Regions from separate parts of the Homo sapiens genome. Here all the other regions are linked to region 1. Evidence: promoter capture Hi-C in 16 types of primary human blood cells and fetal thymus (Javierre and others, 2016). All regions are on one chromosome and are shown on one strand. Each heading gives the region's core, a stretch centred on a gene start or on the middle of the fragment in contact. The rest is flanking DNA. Distances are from core to core; before and after follow the strand shown. Region 1 holds the start of SYTL2 (synaptotagmin like 2). Region 2 overlaps PICALM (phosphatidylinositol binding clathrin assembly protein). Region 3 overlaps PICALM (phosphatidylinositol binding clathrin assembly protein). Region 4 overlaps PICALM (phosphatidylinositol binding clathrin assembly protein). Region 5 has its middle 4.2 kb from the start of TMEM126A. Region 6 overlaps PICALM (phosphatidylinositol binding clathrin assembly protein).

What was found. Contacts are between HindIII fragments. The CHiCAGO score rates a contact against its expected background, and 5 or more counts as called.
Region 2: a fragment that was not itself captured here is called in contact with the fragment with the promoter of SYTL2 in region 1 in 1 of 17 cell types (total CD8 T cells); the score reaches 5.2 in total CD8 T cells.
Region 3: a fragment that was not itself captured here is called in contact with the fragment with the promoter of SYTL2 in region 1 in 1 of 17 cell types (activated CD4 T cells); the score reaches 5.1 in activated CD4 T cells.
Region 4: a fragment that was not itself captured here is called in contact with the fragment with the promoter of SYTL2 in region 1 in 3 of 17 cell types (naive CD4 T cells, total CD4 T cells and non-activated CD4 T cells); the score reaches 5.8 in naive CD4 T cells.
Region 5: a fragment that was not itself captured here is called in contact with the fragment with the promoter of SYTL2 in region 1 in 6 of 17 cell types (naive CD8 T cells, naive CD4 T cells, total CD8 T cells and 3 more); the score reaches 10.3 in naive CD8 T cells.
Region 6: a fragment that was not itself captured here is called in contact with the fragment with the promoter of SYTL2 in region 1 in 5 of 17 cell types (naive CD4 T cells, naive CD8 T cells, total CD8 T cells and 2 more); the score reaches 7.7 in naive CD4 T cells.

The regions. Positions count from the first base shown.
Region 1 is chr11:85,809,558-85,812,942 of GRCh38, reverse strand. It overlaps SYTL2 (synaptotagmin like 2), which reads left to right and starts at 1,802. Exons shown (of 20, transcript NM_206927.4): 1 at 1,802-1,989. RefSeq lists a silencer at 1,664-1,843. The HindIII fragment of the contact is 7,624 bases long and covers 1-3,385 here.
Region 2 is chr11:86,043,408-86,046,792 of GRCh38, reverse strand. All of the region lies in intron 1 of PICALM (phosphatidylinositol binding clathrin assembly protein), which reads left to right. It overlaps LOC124902730 (a long non-coding RNA gene), which reads left to right. Exons shown (of 2, transcript XR_007062822.1): 1 at 1-3,385. Among named protein-coding and RNA genes, the nearest start is that of PICALM, 24 kb to the left of the region's middle. The HindIII fragment of the contact is 2,478 bases long and covers 330-2,807 here.
Region 3 is chr11:86,022,856-86,026,240 of GRCh38, reverse strand. The region is part of intron 3 of PICALM (phosphatidylinositol binding clathrin assembly protein); the gene reads left to right. Among named protein-coding and RNA genes, the nearest start is that of PICALM, 45 kb to the left of the region's middle. The HindIII fragment of the contact is 4,109 bases long and covers 1-3,385 here.
Region 4 is chr11:85,997,114-86,000,498 of GRCh38, reverse strand. The region is part of intron 11 of PICALM (phosphatidylinositol binding clathrin assembly protein); the gene reads left to right. Among named protein-coding and RNA genes, the nearest start is that of PICALM, 70 kb to the left of the region's middle. The HindIII fragment of the contact is 4,873 bases long and covers 1-3,385 here.
Region 5 is chr11:85,642,100-85,645,484 of GRCh38, reverse strand. No RefSeq gene overlaps it. Among named protein-coding and RNA genes, the nearest start is that of TMEM126A, 4.2 kb to the left of the region's middle. The HindIII fragment of the contact is 8,633 bases long and covers 1-3,385 here.
Region 6 is chr11:85,970,187-85,973,571 of GRCh38, reverse strand. The region is part of intron 19 of PICALM (phosphatidylinositol binding clathrin assembly protein); the gene reads left to right. Among named protein-coding and RNA genes, the nearest start is that of PICALM, 97 kb to the left of the region's middle. The HindIII fragment of the contact is 1,411 bases long and covers 1,012-2,422 here.

The DNA of each region.
Region 1 (3,385 bases), core at 553-3,052:
GAAGGGGATAACCAAGGCAGGTGCAATCAACAATAAAAGTGAAGTACCAAAAGCATCTGAGGTCACGCTACTCCCCTGCCTAAAATCATTCGCCAACAGCCATCACCAACAGGACACAGCCTGCTTCCCTCAGCAAGGCAGGTACAGCCACTCCTCCAACATCTGCCCACCTACCTCCTTAGCTTCATCTCTGCCTCATTGTCCCAAATCCTGTGCAATAGCCGTGACATATGACAGGCATCTCCATGTCTCTGCCTGCCTCTCTGTGCCCAGTCTTCTGTCACCCCTTCAATCTGACCTAATTTGTAGCCCTCCTTCAAGACCTACCTTGGTCACATTTGTATTTTTTATTGTCCCCCTCCTTCAGCGTAGTGACTCTACAACACTTTGTCAACCTATTATAACACTTACCCTAAAATGAAATTATTTACAAATTTGTTTCTTCAAAGGCAAGACCAGTGGCTTATTCCTCTTTTGCATGTGGCATGCTCACCCAGCACAGGGACACACCAGGCTCTCAAAGGCTGAAGGAAGCCAGAATACACATCTCTGCACAGTGCCAGGACTCTTGGGCCAGGCTAGCAGCCTGCACTGGGCACTAACTGAAGCCCTTGGGGATAAGTATTTGTAAGTTTGGGAGAAGGAAGACCTTTGGAAGAACCAAAGGCAGACCTGGGCCACCCTCAGTTAAATGGACAACACTAGTCCAGGAAATGATAAGGAAAAAGGCTTTAAGGTTCATCTCCTTCAGAGGTTTGCCTGGGCTGGCCCCATCATGGGTAACTTGTAAAAAATAGGTCGTGATACAATTTTTAAATTATTTTATTTATTTTTTTGAGACAGAGTCTTGCTCTGTCACCCAGGATGGGGTGCAGTGGTGCGATCTTGGCTCACGGCAGCCTCCACCTCTCGGGTTAAAGCGATTCTCCTGCCTCAGCTTCCTAAGTAGTTGGGACTACGGGCGCTCGCCACCACACCCAGCTAATTTTTCTTTTTTCTTTTCTAATTAGAACAGAGTTTTGCTATGTTGGCCGGGCTGGTCCCGAACTCCTGACCTCGGGTTATCCACCTGCCTCGGCCTCCCATAATGCTGGGATTACAGGTGTGAGCCACCGCGCCCGACCACAATATTGTATTTACTGTATTGCATTGTCTGCCTCCCTGCCACACAGCGTCTTCCAGGAGCTTACCAGTCCTCTGTGCATACCCCAGTAAGTAGCTCAGGCAGTGCATGACGCCCTCACCTTTCTCTAGGTATTATTGTATTTTAAAGCATCACTTCATTTAGTCCTCTCAACAACTTTTTTCCCCCCTTCTTCTATTTCACATGTGAGGAAATTGACGTCCCGAGGGTTAAAGCAAGTTACCCCATGACCGGGCTCCATACCCTCCGCGCCCCTTTCCCTGCGCGGTGGCTGTCCCTTCTCGGAGTGCAGAGGCTCCTAGTGCTCCACACTCTCGGGCTCCAAGGCCCCCTAACGCGCCGTGATAAAAATAATAATAACAATAACAACAGTGCTGCTTTATTTGCACAGAAAACAGGTTGTTTCGGGGCAAGGTACACTTGAGAAGGAGGCTAGGAACCGGAGAGAAGCAGCAGGCGGGGGCGGAGGGCGAAGGGAGGGAAGGGGAGAGGGCAGGGGCTGGCAGGCGCTGTGTGCCGGGCGAGGAGGCCGGGGCGGGCCGGGGCGGGGAGCGGGCGAAGCGCCATTGGCCCGAGCACCCGGGACCGGCCCCACCGCACCGCCCGCCGGGGGCGGGGGTAGCGGGGAGGGACTCGCGCACGCCGCTCTGCGTTGACAGTGCCGGGCGACACCCGGGCCGTGCCGCCAGCGTCCGTCGGGAGAGTGAAGGCTCGCAACGCCTTGCCCGGGGGAAGGTAACGCGCCGCGCCCGGGGCTGCGCGGTTTGCACCGCCAGGCCGAGGGCTGGGGGCCAGAAGACAAGAGAGACGGCGAGGCGCGCTCCCTGCCCGGCAGCGACTCGGAGGTGCGCACTCGGGTTCCAGTCTCTACTTGGCCCACTCGCTGTGTTACCTCGGGCAACTTTGTTTCCCTCTCTTGGTCTCTGCTTCCTCCTCTGTTAAGTGAGGGAGGTGGTGTAGAATGTTGTTCCTTAGTCTAACCAGTTCTAAAATGGGAACTGCGTTTTGGCACGGGGAAAGCTCCTTTCCTCAGTTTCCCACCTACTCCAGAGCCACCTCCGCTGCCCAGGCGGCCAGGAAGCTGGGATGCCCGGGTAGGCGAGGGTTCTGCTGAGCTATCGCGTTTTCTAGGGCTTTCAGGGACTGACCTGGGCTTGGGGCTGGGTGCTGGGGAGACCTGGCTGCAGAGTAACTGCCCCCAGATTGCTCAGGTGCAGAAAGGTAGGAGCGTCAGCACCTGTTTACAGGTGGGGTGTTGGGAAGGGCCGGCCAGGGGATGATGATTTCTCCTTTGAAAATAAGACGTGTTTTGGAATTCTCTTCCATACCCACACCTCGTCCCACGGCGAGCTATAAACTACACGAGTGGGCTTTATCATCCTTTGAAGTGGAAAAGCGACTGTTTTTAGCGTCTAAGACACAGGGCTCCACCAGCATATAGGAAGTGGGTCTCTCTTTCTCTGCACCCATCCTGCCGCGTCTTCCCTTTCTTTCCTCCTCTCTTTATAAATCCCCTTTGACCTTGAGGGGCTCCACTTCCTGCCTTAATGAAAAGTTCTTCTTTTCATTTAGTGCTGGTTTGTGACCAGCAGCCTCCAGGGCTTTGGGCGCAGGGTTGAGATAGAAGCCTAGATAAGAACAGGCTATGAATCACCCTGTCAGCCCCCTGAGCCACACAGCCCGGCAGGGATGTGCAGAGGAAGCCCGGTGGGGCTTCAGACAGATAGACCCTGGAAGGTGGGGTGGATGCAAACTGCCATCCAGCTTCCCGTCCCCTTGTTGGCAGCCATTCCCCACCAGGATGGTGACCCCTGCTGTCTGCTGGATGGAGCAGCCAGATAGAGTAGGATGATTGAAAGGAGCTGAGGACTTGGCTGGATTTCTATGGAAGGTCTCCAGCATTTCCCTTCCCTCACTTTCCTCCACCCCTGAAGTTCTGCCCCTTCTCACCCTTAGTGTGGTATCCAGGTGAAATCAGATTGCAGAACCCATCAAGAGCAGCTAGGAAGGAGAAGAGGTGTGGGGACGGCAGCAGGGCAATGTTGACTGCTGTTTAGTGGGCACTTACTATGGGCCAGACACTTCTTTGTATGTAATATATCCTTAATTCTCACAAAGCCACATGAGGGGTGATGTACTATACCCTATTTTATAGGTGAGAAACAGGCTCAGAAAGATTGCTTCCTTTAGTCACTTAGCTAGGAAGTAGCATAGCTGGAATTCAAATCCAATCTCTGATTC
Region 2 (3,385 bases), core at 319-2,818, 230 kb before region 1:
GCTGGCATGTACCTGTAGTCCCAGCTACTCCAGTCTGGGTGACAGAGTAAGACCCTGTCTTTATTAAGAAAGAAAGAAATCATATGTGCATTATAAAGATTTTGCCACTCTTAAGATTGAGTGCAAGGATCTATGGTAACACTTCCCAGTTGATGAAGAAATTGGGCATTAGATAATGAAGGTTTTGCAGCAGTAATTGAGTTTGAGCTATTTTCATGACAGTGTATTGGAAAGGTGATAGAGGAGTTGTCTCCTAAAATGAGGGAAAACATCAATACAAAATGATGGTAAGAAAGAAATGAAAATATTTGTAATGATGCTTTAAAGCTTTAGGGTACTTTTAAAATACCCTAAATATATCACCTTACTAAGCCAAGATGTTGTGAAAATTAAGTATTAGTCCTATTTTTTAAATGTTGAAATGGAAACTGAGTGACTAATTAACATGCCTGAAATCACAATGGTGAATCATGAATCTCGAATTTGATTCTAGATTTTTTTTGCTCATTCTGATGTGTTGGTTAGTCTTGTTATAGTACAGTTGTAGCACATGGAAATGGATGGGACCATGCATGGAAGCCAGAGAGTCTAGAGCAGAACTTCAGTGATGGCAAATTAAAATCTTCATTATCAGTATTTGAAGCAGATATTGAAAATGAATAGCTCTTAGGACAGACTATCAAATAAATGTGAGCCAGAAGATTTTTAATGGGAGAAATTAACTTTAATGAAATATCTTGTAGAAAGAGTTAAAAACAAGATACCTGCCAATCCCAGTCACTCTGGAGAGTATCTAATGTAGCAATGAAAGTAAAAACTAGTTAACATTCTCCAGTGTTTGTCAAGTTTAGGAAGAGATTAACTTGAAAAGCTGTGGTTGGGTAGAAGGTTTATTTGAAGATCGTTTGGCATCATAGCAAAAAAAAGTTGGTGAAAGATTGGTACTGTAGAATGATGGGAGAAAGATGATTAAATTTCCCTTCCTACTTGTCTAGACCACTTAAAATGTATATTACTTTCTCACACAAGCCAGGATAAAGATACACTCTTTAAGAAATTTAGGAGACTCTTCATATATCCATTCATAGATAGAATGTGGTTTTGAAAATAAATGGGATATTGTATAAATATAGATCTATATAAAATTTTATAATTCCTTTTAAGAAAGACATTTGTCAGGAAGTAAAATTGTCAGACTTTTTAGTGCTGAGAAATAGGAAATAGGTGAATGTGGGTTATATGGAGTCTTTTTTTTTTTTTTTTTTTTTTTTTTGAATTTCAAGACAGGGTCTCACTATGTTGCCTAGGCTGGAGTTCAGTGGCTATTCACAGTTGTCATCATTGCATACTACAGCCTCAAACTCTTGGGCTGAAGTGATCCACCCACCTCAACCTCCTGAGTGGCTGGGACTACAGGTGCATACCACTGTACCCTTCTAGGAATCTTATAAGAACAGGTGTATGGTTATGAGGTGTATGAGGATAGAGATATTTTTTGTCCTGGTGATTATTTCTTCTTGTAGAATAATCCTGGTGATTTTTCCTTCTTGTAGAAACTTAAAGGCGTAATATTAAACTTATTAGGAAAAATAACTCTGGCTTTATTTTGTAGTGATTTATTAATGGCTTTATTTTATAGTGATATATTAATAATGTATTAAAATTGCTCATATTTTCCACTTAGAGAGTATTATTTCAAAATTTAAAGCCATGTAGATAGGTTATTATTTGGTGCTACATCCGCCATTACTGCAGTTGGTTTCCAGCAGTTTGAAAAATGATTTTTCAGAAATGGCTTTCACTTGTTACTCAGTGGCTTACAGCAACGGTCCCCAACCTTTTTGGCACCAAGGAGTGGTTTCATGGAAGACAGTTTTTCCACAGACTGGCAGGGGGTGTGTGGAGGGATGGTTTCGGGATGAAACTGTTCCACCTCGATCATAGGCATTAGATTCTCATAAGGAGTGCACAGCCTAGATCCCTTGCATGTGCAGTTCACAATAGGGGTCGCGCTCCTATGAGAATCTAATGCCCCTGCTGATCTGATAGGAGGCAGAGCTCAGGCAGTAATGCTTCCTAGCTCACCAGCTACTGTGTGGCCCAGTTCCTAACAGGTCATGAGCCAGTAATGGTCCACGGCCTGGGGGTTGGGAACCCCTGGCTTACAGGGTCTTCACATGCTTACTAGCTACAGTTACGTCACTTAATCGTGTAATAAATGGCTCGTGTAATTTTGAGTCACTTAAAGTGATCAGATTGTTTTAATTGTGAAGCATGTGAATAAATAAATGAGATTTCCACCGTCTGGTACTATATACGTAAAACTAGAGGCTTTGCAAAATTACCAAGAGACGATCCCGTTTGATGTGTCTTTGGTTTGGCACAGGTGGAGCAGACATGTGAGATATAGAATGAATGGGAGGCCTTCACACTTACTCACTATGTGGAAGGTGGTAGTTGATCATGATGGTCAGTTCCATAGGCCTCCAGGCCACTGGTGACACACTACCACTGTTGCCATAATTCTTAAAAGTCATTTTATGTGGGGCTCCTTCCTAGCAACCTCCCTCAAACACATAGCTCCATCCCTTCCAAGAGCTAAGAAATTTTTAGCACTTGCCACCATCTATTTGTTCATTTGTTTACTGATTACATTCCTCCCATTAGTATATAAGCTCCGTGATAATAGAAACTTTGTCCACTATTGTATATTTCTAACTCCTAAGACACTATTGGCGTATTATAGTATGCAGTTAATACTAGAATAAATGGGATTTCTGTTTGTTCTTACTGAGGTTTGCAAAGCTTCATGAAAGTGGAATATAAAGATTCTCGTTGTTCTGTGTGCATTGGGGACATGGAACGGAACTTGTGTTTTCTGAGTGAGGGAGCCTCTGGCAGAGAGTCTAACTGCAATCCATTATTCCCTGTGACTGGGCAGAATTTAAAAATTTTTAAGAGAAGAGATGAAAAATCTTCTGGATTCCTACTTAATTTAGACATGGGTTTGGCTCTTAACGAAAAACTTTAACCTACCTACAGGGAAGGCTTTTTCGCTGTTACCCTTACTTCTGTCTCCTGGATCTTATGAGTGGAGAAATGAGCCTTTGTTTCACTTACAAATCCACAAATATTTATGCTGTCATATGAACACATGTATAAGGCGCTGTGTCACATTGTGGAAGATACAAAGAGACAGGATTCCTGAGAATTTAACAAAGTTAAGAATGAGTGTTATTAATTAAAACAAAAATGGGACATTTAGGTTATAGTTGAGACCATGTTCTTGTTTTTTAAACGTGAGATGTTTTTGGACACAGAGGTGAAAAATTCTAATGTCTCTAACTCCCCCAGAAGACCTTAGATTGATTTTTCTGAGAAGAAA
Region 3 (3,385 bases), core at 583-3,082, 210 kb before region 1:
TGATTACTCCAGAGTAGAACTCTGTCTTTTAGAACATGTGCTACTTTAAACCTTATATTTTAGTGAAGGTTGTAGGAAAGAAAAAACTGTCTTTTAATTTGAAGATTAATAATAATCTTCCTACCAGATACTCAGAGCTCTCTGAGACGGAGTACAGAGTAGTTATTTGAGAGCATGAATTCTGGAGCTGGACTGTCTAGGTTTGAATCTCATCTTTGCTGCCTACCAGCTATATGAACTTGGGCAGGTTACTTCACCTCTGCATCAGTAGAATCGAGTAATAGTGATAGTACCTACCCAGTAAGATTGTCATGAGACTTAACCTAGTTAATTACTACAAAGTGCTTAGAACAGTGCCTGGCACACAAGACATGCTATGTAAGGCTGGGTACGGTGGCTCATGCCTGTTATTGCAGCACTTTGGGAGGCTGAGGCGGGTGGGTCACTTGAGGTCAAGTGTTCAAGACCAGCCTGGCCAACATGGTGAAACCCCGTCTCTACTAAAAATACAAAAATTAGCCGGGATTGGTGGTGCACACCTGTAATCCCAGCTACTCAGGAGGCTGAGGCAGGAGAATCGCTTGAACCCAGGAGGCGAAGGTTGCAGTGAGCCAAGATCATGCCACTGCACTCCAGCCTGGGTGACAAAGCTAGACTCTGTCTCAAAAAAACAAACAAAAAAAGAAATGCTATGTAATATTTGCTTTCATTGTTATTATATTATGTTTCATTCCAAGAAATGTAGTTGAAATATTACATGTTTTAGTAGCTAAAGTGGATATAATTTGTTGAGATGAATTGTTCCTTCATATTCGTAGCTATTTTCTTATTTATGTTTTTTTGAGACGAAGTCTCGTTCTGTCACCAGGCTGGAGTGCAGTGGCATGATCTTGGCTCACTGCAACCTCCGCCTCCCGGGTTCAAGCGATTCTCCTGCCTCAGCCTCCCGAGTAGCTGGGACTACCCGCGCATGTCACCACGCCCAGCTACTTTGTGTATCTTTAGTAGAGATGGGGTTTCACCATGTTGGCCAGGATGGTCTGCATCTCTTGACCTCATGATCTGCTTGCCTCGGCCTCCCAAAGTGCTGGGATTACAGGCGTGAGCCACCACACCCGGCCTGCTATTTTTTATTTAGTAACTTGAAATGGACATAATGTGGTTATAGCTGTCCATGCACATTGTCTTAATGGGATCTGTTTTACTTAGTTCTGTAACTAGGCTGTTAGCATTATAGAATGTTAGCTTTAGGGAGAACCTCATAAAGGATATGCCAAATGAATTGGGAATATTCAACAGTGAGGCTCAATCAGGGAAATGTCTTTAGAGAAGGTGAGATTTGTGCTGGGCTTCAAGAGAAGGATGAGAAGATGAGTTGGCTTAAGCACAGGTACAATACATGAATGTGAAAGTAAGGACAGATACACAGATGTATATGGATGTGAAAGTCATTCACATGGATATGAGTATTTAAGATTTACAGAGCAAATGAATGTGAATAGAATATATATGAATGGTGTATTTGAGAACATGTAGTGGCAGATAGCCCTCAAGAAGCTGTTCAGAGCCAAAATCAAGCACAAAAATTTTTTATAGAGTTGGAATTTTATAATGCAGTAGAGAGAGGAGGGGAGAGGGAATTATGTGTTACCAGGAAAGCATCATAGCTTAGTCAAGTTAGATCAGAGTAAACCAAATCTTGAAGATGCTGAGACTGTTTCAGTTGTTCTGGTTATCTAGTGTAGAGTTAATCAGGGCCTGAACTGTGGTTCTTCTGGAGGTGTAAAAAAAAAAAAAGATCAGGGGAATTTTTTTTTTTTTTTAATGTGACTGGCTGTATTTGAGTTTGGAGGTGTTCAGTCCAATACTTGTTTCCCTTTGGTAAGTGCAGGTATTGCTTAAAAAGAATTTAATACCCTATCTTCCAGACATTCTAGAAGACCAGTAATCTATATGTAGGACCCATTGTTACAAAATGCATTATATTTTAACAAGAGTTACGGCGCTCTAACTTAAGGAAAAAAAATTAAAACAGTAGACCCCCTCTCTTGAAAAAAAAATTTTTTTTTTCTTTGAGACAGGATCTGGTTCTGTTGCTGAGGCTGGAGTAAGAGAGACCGGGGCTTGCTCTGTCACCTAGGCTGGGTGCAGTGGTATGATCGTAGCTCACTGCAGCCTCTAACTCCTGGCTCAAGCGGTCCTCCCTTCAGCCTCCTGAGCAGCTGGGATTACAGATGTGCACCACCACGCCTGGCTAATATTTTTATTCTTAAATATTTTGTAGAGATGGGCTCTTGCTCTGTTGACCAGGTTGGTCTTGAACTCTTGGTCTAAAGCGATCCTCCTAAGCCTCCCAAAGTGCTGGGATTACAGGCATGAGCCACCACACCTGGCCTCTTTTTGAAATCTTAAACAGAAGCCAGATATATATTATAGATAAAAATGGAGTGTCTCTATTTTCAGGGGCATGGAAGAAACTGCCTACTCATCCTTTAATTTTCACTTCCTCCCTCATTCAGTTCATTTTAACTTTAAAAGTCTATGGAAAACAAGATGCAGAGCAGTGCTCTAGGCAGAGTTTATGCATATATCCAAGTAGGTTTTTTGTGTCTTATTAGCGACTGATTTATCATTTTCTTAAGATGGAAATTAAGCAATTCTAGTGGTAAGGTGTTAATAATTTCACTCTTTTTATGTAGACGAGAGGTTGAGCCTTGAAGGATGAGAGGTGTTTACCGTCTTAGGATGGGGTATAGTAGATAGAACCATATGAACCGAAGAGCTGAGGAATGTGAGCATGTAACACCTGACGTGTACAGTAGTAGGTATGAAGTCATATGGGAGCAGTATTTTTTTTTCTATTTTGTTCACTGATTTTTCTCCACTGGTACTTAATAGGCACTCAATAAATATTTTGCTAAATAAATGAACTGGTGATGTTGAAATCCAGTTAGTTTACATTTTGGTTGGTTTTGGTATTGTCTTTTAAAGGTAGCAAAGACCAAGTAATTAAATTTGTTAGATGAATATGAGATAAAATGGGTTCACTTTTCAATGAGGAGCAAAAATTTATAGACTTCCTTGAGCCAGGTAATAACTAAAACACAAAGTTTTTGGTGTTTTTAGAAAATAATATTGATTAGATTTTATGTTGCTAAAGTTTTCAAGTCAAGGTCATGATGAAACAAAATCTTAGAATGATTTATGTATTCATTTAGAAAGTTTCATTGAAAACATTCATATAATTGTTTTTGTTACACCCTGAACTTGCATGTTGCCATTTCTTATATTACACAGTAATTTTTTATACTTTTTATAAGGTTGGCACATACAAGTTATGGTTCTAAATACAGCTAAAGATTTTAGGAGTATAAAAATTATATAA
Region 4 (3,385 bases), core at 646-3,145, 190 kb before region 1:
ATAATACCTAAAGATAAAGTGATGAGTTTATATTTTACGTATTTACGAAATGGAAGATAGTTAAATCACTGATTTATACTAATAGGAATATAGCTGTTATCTCTGGGCCAACTTTTCATTGTGTAAAAATTATGATTAAACACATTTATGAGGCATCTAATGGTTCAAGACCCTTTATAGCTCTTTGACATATGGATATGATATATATTTCAAAATACCATTTCATTAGATATTAAACGTCTGTCATATCTGTTTCCTGGTTTTAAACTCTGTAATCTGGAACACAGTGACAGAGTTTAGTTGCCAGGTTTCTTGGTATTGAAGCCTACCAGACTAACTTTAATAATCTTGTTGTCTAATTTAAGCTACTTAACATGGAAATATAATATTGCCAGGTAAAGTAAAACAATTGGCATTTTCTGAACCTCAGAGTGGCTTAAAGTAGTTTTAAAAGTCAGATTCTGGTTTGAATCCTGGCTCTGTTAGTTCTTAACTTTTTTTGAGAAACCTTGTTTTCAGATGAGACTGTGGTTCTCAACTTTAACATCAGAAGCATTTGGAGAGTTTATTAAACTACAGATATCTGAGTCCCAATCCTAGAGTTTTGATTCAGTAGGTGGGGCCTGGGGCCCAAGAATTTTTGTTTTTAAGATGCTCCCAGGTGACTAGGTTTTAGCACAGTGCATTATTAGCACATGTTAAATGTTCCATAGAGAGTGGTGAGTTTTTTCCTTTCACTTTGTTGTTGCTGTTTATTAACTCACCCTTAAAAGCTCATCTGCCTGCCTACTGACTCCTAATAGCTGAGCCTAATAGCTCAGTGTAAGTTTTACTACGTGAACTGCTTGCTGTATGCATGCTCAGTTGCTACCTGCTCCCTGAAATCTTAGTAGGTGTTTGTTGAATTTAGTTCTTTTTTTTCTTTCAGCTTTATGATTTGTTTGCTCATGTATGCTACCTTCTTTAATCCCCAGTTAAGTAACATTGACCCCATTAAGGGGCAAGTTCTCAACATGGAGATCTTGAAAAGAAGTCTGTCCTAGGAGAAAGAAGTGAAAAGAATGTTCATTGTTCGAGGCTGAAACAAATTATTGGATAAAGAACTAATTTCACTATGTTTTATGTCACATACTAAAAATTTTCACCTTTTTAATAGTAATTAAGGGCAAATCTTACAGCCCATTTACAGAATTATTATTGTATATTCTATATGTTCCCCAAAGCACTAAATGCGTTTATATCTACTATCTACACAACTATTGTACATCTAAAAGACATGTCTTCAAAACTTTTTTATAAAAATACAGTTAGAAGGAATAAGTTCTAGTGTTTGATAGCACAGTAGAATTACTAATTAAAAACAATTGTATTACCTATATCAAAGTAGCTAGAAGATTTAGAATGTTCTCAACACAGAGAAATGATGAATGTTTGAGGTGTGATAGATGTCCTGATAATTACATGGTATGCATGTATCACAATATCATATGTATCCCATAAATATGTACAATTATTGTATATCCATTTAAAAAGAAAAACATTCTATTTTGGAGAATATATAAGTTAAAAATTAGGAGCTGGGTGTGGTGGCGTGTGCCTGTTGTCCCAGCTACTCAGGAGGTTGAGGCAGGAGGAAGGCCTGAGCCCAGCCGTACAAGCTAGCCTGGGCAACATCTCTTGGTCTGTTTGTCTGTTTCTCTCTCAATCTCTCTCTCTCTTTTGAGACAGTGACTTACTCTGTCACCCAGGCTGGAGTGCAGTGGCACAGCCATGGCTCACTGCAGCCTCAACCTCCTGGGCTCAAGCATTCCCTCTGCCTTAGCTTCCCGAGTAGCTGGGACTACAGGCGCACTCCGCAATGCCCAACTATTTTTCGTATTTTTTCGCCATTTTGCCCAAGCTGATCTTGAACTTTTGAACTCAAGCAGTCCGCACGCCTCAGCCTCCCAAAGTGCTGGGATTACAGGCATGAGCCACTACACCCAGCCTCCAGACCCCTTCTCTTAAAAAAATTATCTGTACTGTGTTTGAATTCTTAGACACTCTGGGGTCATGTTTTGAGTTGTTCATTAAAATCACATAGAAGTCGGCCGGGCATGGTGGCTCATGCCTGTAATCCCAGCATTTTGGGAGGCTGAGGTGGGCGCATCATGAGGTCAGGAGATCGAGACCATCCTGGCTAACACGGTGAAAGCCCATCTCTACTAAAAATATAAAAAATTAGCCGGGCGTGGTGGCAGGCGCCTGTAGTCCCAGCTACTTGGCAGGCTGAGGTAGAAGAATGGCATGAACCCGGGAGGCGGAGCTTGCAGTGAGCCAGGATCGCTCCACTGCACTCCAGCCTGGGCGACGGAGCGAGACTCTGTCTCAAATAAAAAAAATTACATAGAAGTCTTGAGGTAGAAATATATCATGTAAGCCAGGCATGGTGCCTCCCGCCTGTAATCCCAGCACTTTGGGAGGCTCAGGTGGGTGGATCATCTGAGGTCAGGAGTTCGAGGCCAGCCTGGGCAGTGTGGTGAAACCCTGTCTCTACTAAAGGACAAAAATTAGCCAAGCATGGTGGCATGCACCTTTAATCCCAGCTTCTTGGGAGGCTAAGGCATGCCAGTCACTGGAACCCAGGAGGTGGAGGTTGCATTGAGCCAAGATCACATCACTGCACTCCAGCCTGGACAACAGAGTGAGACTCTTGTCTCAAAAAAAGCAAAACAACAACAAAAAAAGAGGCTGAGCACAGTGGCTCACGCCTGTAATCCCAGCACTCTGGGAGGCCGAGGCAGGCGTATCACCTGAGGTCAAGAGTTTGAGACCAGGCTGGCCAACATGGTGAAACCCTGTCTCTATTAAAAATACAAAAATTAGCCGGATGCGGTGCTGCGCACCTGTAGTCCCAGCTGCTTGGGAGGCTAAGGCAGGAGAATCATTTGAACCTGGGAGGCAGAGGTTACAGTGAGCCAAGATCACGCCGCTGCACTCCATCCTGGGCGACAGAGCGAGACTCTGTCTCAAAAAAAAGAAGAAAGAAATATATCATGTAAATAGTGTGTTGTGTGATGGGGTGGCTCTATTCATAAATGCATGTAAAATTTTTTCCCTGTATCATTGATACATAGTTTGGACACTGAGGCACTAGAAGTGAGGTTAATGAGTATTTTACTGTGTAGTGTATTGCAAATGTGATTCAAGTTCTGTGAATATTAAAAGTAAGAAAAGAGTTTTATTAAAAATATTAAAATTGCTGTGATATTTTGTATTTTAGAATCTTGTTGTTTAGGTTCATTTTAATAGGGAAATTAGTTTTTTCTAGGGGAAGACATTCATCCTTTTCAGAAGAGCTACTGTTCTTTGAATCTTATATAAACTTAAGATATGATATTAGATT
Region 5 (3,385 bases), core at 665-3,164, 170 kb after region 1:
AATGTCTATGATGCTTGCACCAGACAACCGTAAGCTCTTTTTGGAAACAGGAAATAAAGAACAATTTGTCAAAGCATATTTTTCTGTCACTAAAAATACATGCCATTCTTTTGATTTTAAAAGTTTTGAGAAATGCCGAAAGAGAAAAGATAATTTAGTTTCTTATAGCTTGTCTGAACTCTCTAACAACAGAATATTGGCACATAAAATAGTTAATAAAAGAAAATGGAATTTGACCACTTGTCACTACCTTTATTGCTACTACTTATTATCTCTTACCTAGACTGTCTATAAAATCCTGTGTCACACAGAAAAATTGCTGGGATATGGCTTTGACTTAAATGCTGCATGAATCTGCTGAAAATAGTTGATCCAGGAAGATTCCATACTTTTCAAAGATAATAATCAAAAAATAAAAGAGGGACTTCTAGCTTCTGGAAGTGACACAGTAGCTTATGTTGGACAGACCCTGTTGCAAATAACAACTATAAACTCTGGACAAGGAAGAGATTCTTTTCAAAGACCCTGGAAAGCAACCAAAATAGCATGAAAACACAGGAAGGTATACAATTCTTGAAAGATGGGAAAAATAGTGGGTAAGATCCACATTTATCCAGCTTTTTTTCATGAGGGCATTAGTCTGTGCAGTACATGGGGAATATCGAGTGTCAGTATAAAGCAGCATTCTTCCCATTCTAAAACACTCAGAAGTTGAAATTTGGAAATGCCAGATCAACTGAAAATTGGGGCAGGAACCTTGAAAAGGGAACCCCAAAATCTGTCTAAAAAATCCCCTCAAATTTTTGGCTGACATTATAACAGTACATGCATGTGGTAAGACCCAAAGAACCCAATGGACAGCAACAGTTGGAAGACTGGAAGAGATAAAGTGAAATTTCAGCAGTCATCTGATGCTGGGAAGACAGTGTATTTTTGAATATTTAAATTCAAATATCGGAAATTTAAATATTTCCAAGTTATACAGACCGGGTGAAAACTTTGGACATTCCACTGAGCAGCATCTTAGAATTAATGACTACATCCAATGACTAAGGGTTATGCCCTAGAATCAAGGGCAAAATCAACCAAATCAATATTTTTTTAAAAAAATCAAATTAAGCAAAAAGGAAATCAAAGAGGAAGGAATAATAAAGGTAAGAGTGGAAATAAATGAAAGGGAAAAGACAAAAACAATAGAGAAAAGACCAACTGTGATTCTTTGAAAATATTAATAAAATCAATAAGCCCTAATAAGACTAATCAAAAGAAAAAGAGACCAAACAACTAAATCTTTTTGGACTGAAAGAAGGGACATTAATACAGATTCTACACACATTAACAGGATAAGGAGAGGATATTATGAACAACTTTAACCCACTGTGTTCGACAATTTAGACAAAATGGACAAATTGCTTGGTCTTATTGTTAATTGCTTATCTGGAGAGTTACAATTTATTTTTTCTTTTACATTTTATAACCTACAACCTTGCTAAATCAAATAGGATTTTAAAAATTACATAGATAATTTTATTTCTTCTTTTCCAATCTGGCTAGACTCTCCCATACAATGTTGGCTAGAAGCAATAAAGCAGACATTCTTGCATTTTCCCTGATCTTAGGGGGAAGTCATTCAGTTTCCCACCATCATCATGTTAATTATAGGTTTTTTGGTAAATGCTCTTCAAAATCTTAAGGAAGTTCCCTTCTTTTCCTCATGCTGGGAGTTTTTATCAGGAACAGATGTTGGATTTTGTCAAATGCTTTTTCTGTATCTATTCAGATGATTGTTTTTTTTCCTTGTTTAGTCTGTTGATACAGTGAATTATATTGTGTAGGGGCTCCACGTTCCCCAGCCATCTTTCCGTGTCCTGACCAAAAATCACAGAGCGCCTTGACTGCTTTGTGACCTGGCCAGCTGCAGATTTTTCTTAGCAGGCTTGAATCCAAACCGAGACCTGAAACATTTCCAGGCACTGATAAAGGTATCTAGGTTGTTGCCCAAAACACTAAAATAAACTGGCCCTGGCCCTGAGCCAAATTCCTAAGCCCTCATATAAACTCCATATCCTAATCCCCTTGTTGTGAACTGCTAGCCTTTTCTCTTGCTGTTTGTGGTGAGGATTGCTGCAGTTCAGTCATATAAAATTTCCCCTAATAAATGCTTTGGACTGATGACCCTGGTGTTTAGTGCTTCTTTCTTTGAATCCCAACCAGCCCAGTCTCAGGATAACTCTGGACACTCCCTTGTGGAAACTCCCCTGCTGTCACTTTTGGGGTGACTCCTGCTGTGGGTTTGGTGGAACAAAACATTGAGTGATTTTTTTAAATGTTAAGTCAATTTTGCAATCCTGGAATAAGCCCCGCTTGGCCATGAGGTACTATTCTTTATATATATTTTTGTATTTGGTTTGCTAAAAGTTTGTCAAAAGTTTTTATATCAATGTTCATGAGGAGTATTAGGCTGTAGTTTCTTTCCTCAAAATGTTTTTATCTGGCTTTGATATCAGGATATTGCTGGACTTATTGAATGAGTTGGCAAGTGTTCCCATCTCTTCAATTTTTTTGGAGAGTTTGCATCATATTATTATTTCTTCCTTACATGTTTGGTAGACTTTACCAGTGAAGATTTCTGGATCTGAGTTTTCCTTGTAGGGAGGATTTAACTATAAATTCAATACTCATGGTAGATATATGGCTACCCTGATTATCTATTTCTTTTTGAGTGAACTTCACAAATCTTCACAAAACAAGATCAAATATTCATTTATTCATTTCACCTAAGTTCTCAAGTTTATTGGCTGAAATTGTTCAAAAATATTTTCTTGTTATATTTTAACATCTGTAGAATCTGTGGTGAAACATCTCTCTTGATATTGGTCACTTATGTCTTCCCTTCTTTATGCTAATTGTTTATTATTTTTGAAAATCTCAAATAACCACCTTTTGGTTTTATTGGTTCTTTTCTATTGGTTTCTGTTTTCTATTTCTTCCCCCCTCTGTTCTATATTGTTTCTTTCTTATTCTTATCTAGGATTTAAGTTGCTCCTCTTTTTCTCGTTTCTTAAAAACATACCTGAGGTAATTGATTTGAGATCTTTTTCCCCTCTAACATATGTGCTTATCATTACAAATTTCCAAGTGCTGCTTTAACTGTATCCATAGATTTTTAAATGTTCTGTATTATTTTAATTCAGTTCAAAAGAATTTCTAATTTCACTTTGCTTTCCTCTTTGGCCTGTGGATTATTTAGAAGTGTGTTAATTTAGTAATAGTTCCAATTTTCTAGATACCATTTTGCTATTGATTTCCAATTCAGTTCCATTCTGGTCAGAAAATATACTTTGTATGATTTGAATCCTTTTAAGTTTATTGAGATTTATAAAGT
Region 6 (3,385 bases), core at 468-2,967, 160 kb before region 1:
TACATACCTCTGATAAAGGTTAATTTATAAATTAAGTACAGTAAGAGATTAATAATAATGAATAATAGAACAGTAACAGTGTACTGTAATAAAAGTTTTGTTAATGTGTGCTCTTGCTCACGGACATGCTTGCTCTCTCCCTCTCTGTCTTTCTCTTGAACTATCTTAATATCCTCTACTTACCTATTTTCAGACCACGGTTCACTTTGGGTAACTGAAACCACAGAAAGTGAAATAGTGGACTGTATTTCATAGACTAGTGAAGCCTAGGCAATCCTTTCATTTCTCAGCCGTTTTGAATAATGCGTCTCTTAATAAATTGATATCTCTGTTTGGCTGAGAGTGGGTAGTGAATTTAGTTCTGATTAAGGGGTAAAATTCATGTTGGTTGCAATTAATACATTTACCAACATGCCTCTTTTTTTACCCCACCCTTTGTCCATGTTAAAATGACTTCCTCCTTGTTCTTTAATCAGTTAAGTATTTACAGTGAAAATTGAAAATAACTTGGAGTGAGGGTAATTGACACAGTCATTACTTTTATAAGTCAGTCACTTTTTGTGCATTTGTTTTTATAAAATAGACTATGAGTGTTTACAGTATTTATAGTAATTGTTATTGAACTTTTACCAGCAGTAATCTCATTACTGGTTTAACTTGATAATCTTTTAAGAAGTATATGGATGATTTCCCTATCTGTTGTAGATGTTTTCTTGATACACAGTTAATGTCTTTTTCATGTCCTTTTGTTTTTTATTTTGTTATTTGTACATTTAACTTCAGATATGTATCATTTACTTTAAAAATTATTATTATTATTTTGGTACAAGAGACTAAGTGATAGAAACCTAAATGTATTTAAGTAATTTTTTTTAAAGCTATAGTCCATGCTAAAAACTTATTAGGGACCTTCGACTACAGAAGTGTTTTTCCTGATATGTAGTTAAACCCTTCACCCACTCTGCATCTTGATTTGCAGGCTGTTGTCAGAATATATTGCTACCTTAAGCTTGGATACTACCAGACAATTTCCAATTACTTTCACATACATTGTGTTAGCCGATTCTTTAAGGTAGATGGGTCTGCTCTCACCGTCACATTTCATAGGTAAAGAAGACAGACTTGGAAGGGTTCTTCAACTAATTAAATGGTGAAATCAACTTATCCCCAGGTGTGTCTGATTCCTAGTCCAGTGCTCATTTATACCACAGTCTCTCTGCTAGTGGTACTGAGCCCTTACTGGCCAATACGGTAGCACCATCTTCTTTCGTCAGCAGTGAACAGTCTGCACACTCCTTAGGTTTTTCTGCTAAATTGTAAACCACATTTACACATTCAGGATGTAACTACTATAGTTGTAAAGAATATTCTCTACAGTTTTGGGTAATAACCTTCAACCTTGAAACATTGTGTATGAGTTTTGCTTTTTAAAAACCTAAACATTTTTTTTTAATGTTGGCAAAAATCTACCTTTAAAAAATTTCTTGTTGGCCAGGCACGGTGGCTCACGCCTGTAGTCCCAGCACTTTGGGAAGCCAAGGTGAGTAGATCACCTGAGGTCGGGAGTTCAAGACCAGCCTGGCCAACATGGTGAAACCCTGTCTCTACTAAAAATACAAAAAATTGCTGGGCTTGGTGGTGCATGTCTGGAATCCCAGCTACTTGGGAGGCTGAGGTGGGGGAATTGCTTGAACCAGGGAGGCAGAGGTTGCAGTGAGCCTGGATTGGGCCATTGCACTCCAGGCTGGGCGACAAGAGCTAAACTCCATCTCAAAACAAACAAAAAATTGCTTGTCATCCAGCATCTGCTCTGTTTTTGTTTTGTTTTTTTTTTTTGAGACAGGGTCTTGCTCTGTCACCCAGACTCGAGTACAGTGGTGCGATCTCGGCTCACTGCAACCTCCATCTCCCATGTTCAAGCCATCCTCCCGCCTTGGCCTCCTGAGTAGCTGAGATTACTGGTGTATGCCACCATGCCTGGCTAATTTTTGTATTTTTTTTAGAGATGGAGTTTTGCCATGTTGCCCAGGCTGTTCTTGAACTCCTGAGCTCTAGCAGTTCATCTGCCTCGGCCTCCCAAAGTGCTGGGATTACAGGTATGAGCCACCGTACCCACCCAGCATCTGCTCTTAACCCAGGTTTTACGTCCTGTTGCCTTCTAAAACCCACATAACCGTTTCACAGAAACACCAGAAAAGTGCCAGAATTTCCTTGTGCATGAAAAAAAACAGGGACAGAAATACCTTTTCTTAATTACTTTATATCAGAAGAGAAGTGAATGAGAACATTAGGGTAATAAGTTTCTAGTTGAAAGATAAAATTTGAAATGAGTACTTAAGTATTACTGAAAAAGCAAATGAAGGAAGCAAATTGATAACTAGGAAAATAAAATCAGGCAGCAATGAAATGGCTTGAAGAAGCTTTGGTCTCTCTACATAGTCATTTGAATCATTTGAAAGTCAGAATCTTAAATTTGTTAATGTTACTTTTAATTATTTTGTAATTCCTTTGTTCTGCATGTATCTAATCACAAAGTCTCACTAATTATTCCTCTGCTATAATTAGACCCACCCTTCTCCTTGCATTCTACAGCTTTCACCCAGTCTTGGAACCTCTTTATTCACACTTGTTTTGCAATAGTCACTCATGTTCTCTGCCTCCCCGATTTAATCCGTTTTGTAAATATTGGAACAATCTTTTGTAGGCAGTATTTGTAATACCCATCTCCATACTCAAACATTTAGGGAGGTGAATCTTTTTTGTGTGTGGGTAATGGAGTCTCACTCTGTCCCCCAGGCTGGAGGGCAGTGGTACGATTTCAGCTCACTGCAGCCTCTGCCTCCTGTGTTAAACCTCCTGCCTCAGCCTCCCCGGCAGCTGGGATTACAGGCACACGCCACCACACCCAACTAATTTTTAGTAGAGACAGGGTTTCACCATGTTGGCCAGGCTGGTCTCAAACTCCTGGCCTCAAGTGATCCTCCCTCCTGGGCCTCCCAAAGTGTTGGGATTACAGGTGTGAGCCACTGTGTCCAGCCTAAGGAGGTGAATCTAAATATAACTGAACATTTAAAGCCTTTTCTCAGCTTTCCTTCCATCTTAAAACAACCTCATGAAGCCTCCCTATTTATAAGAGTAATAATGAGTTAACGGAATATTCAAGTTCTTCGATTCCATGCTTTTACAATTCTCAATAAGTATCCAGTGTTCTGCTGTTATTTGTCTTTTCCATAAGTCCTTCACCTGCCATAAAGTGGGTTTATTCTTTGTCCAGTCTTCAGTCATCTGGTGTCCCTTTCACATCCTTATGAGATCTGGAATTCTTTTCCTTATTCTGCATTATTTTTTCTTACAGACCTTGTGACTACCTGGCATCCATCCAGTC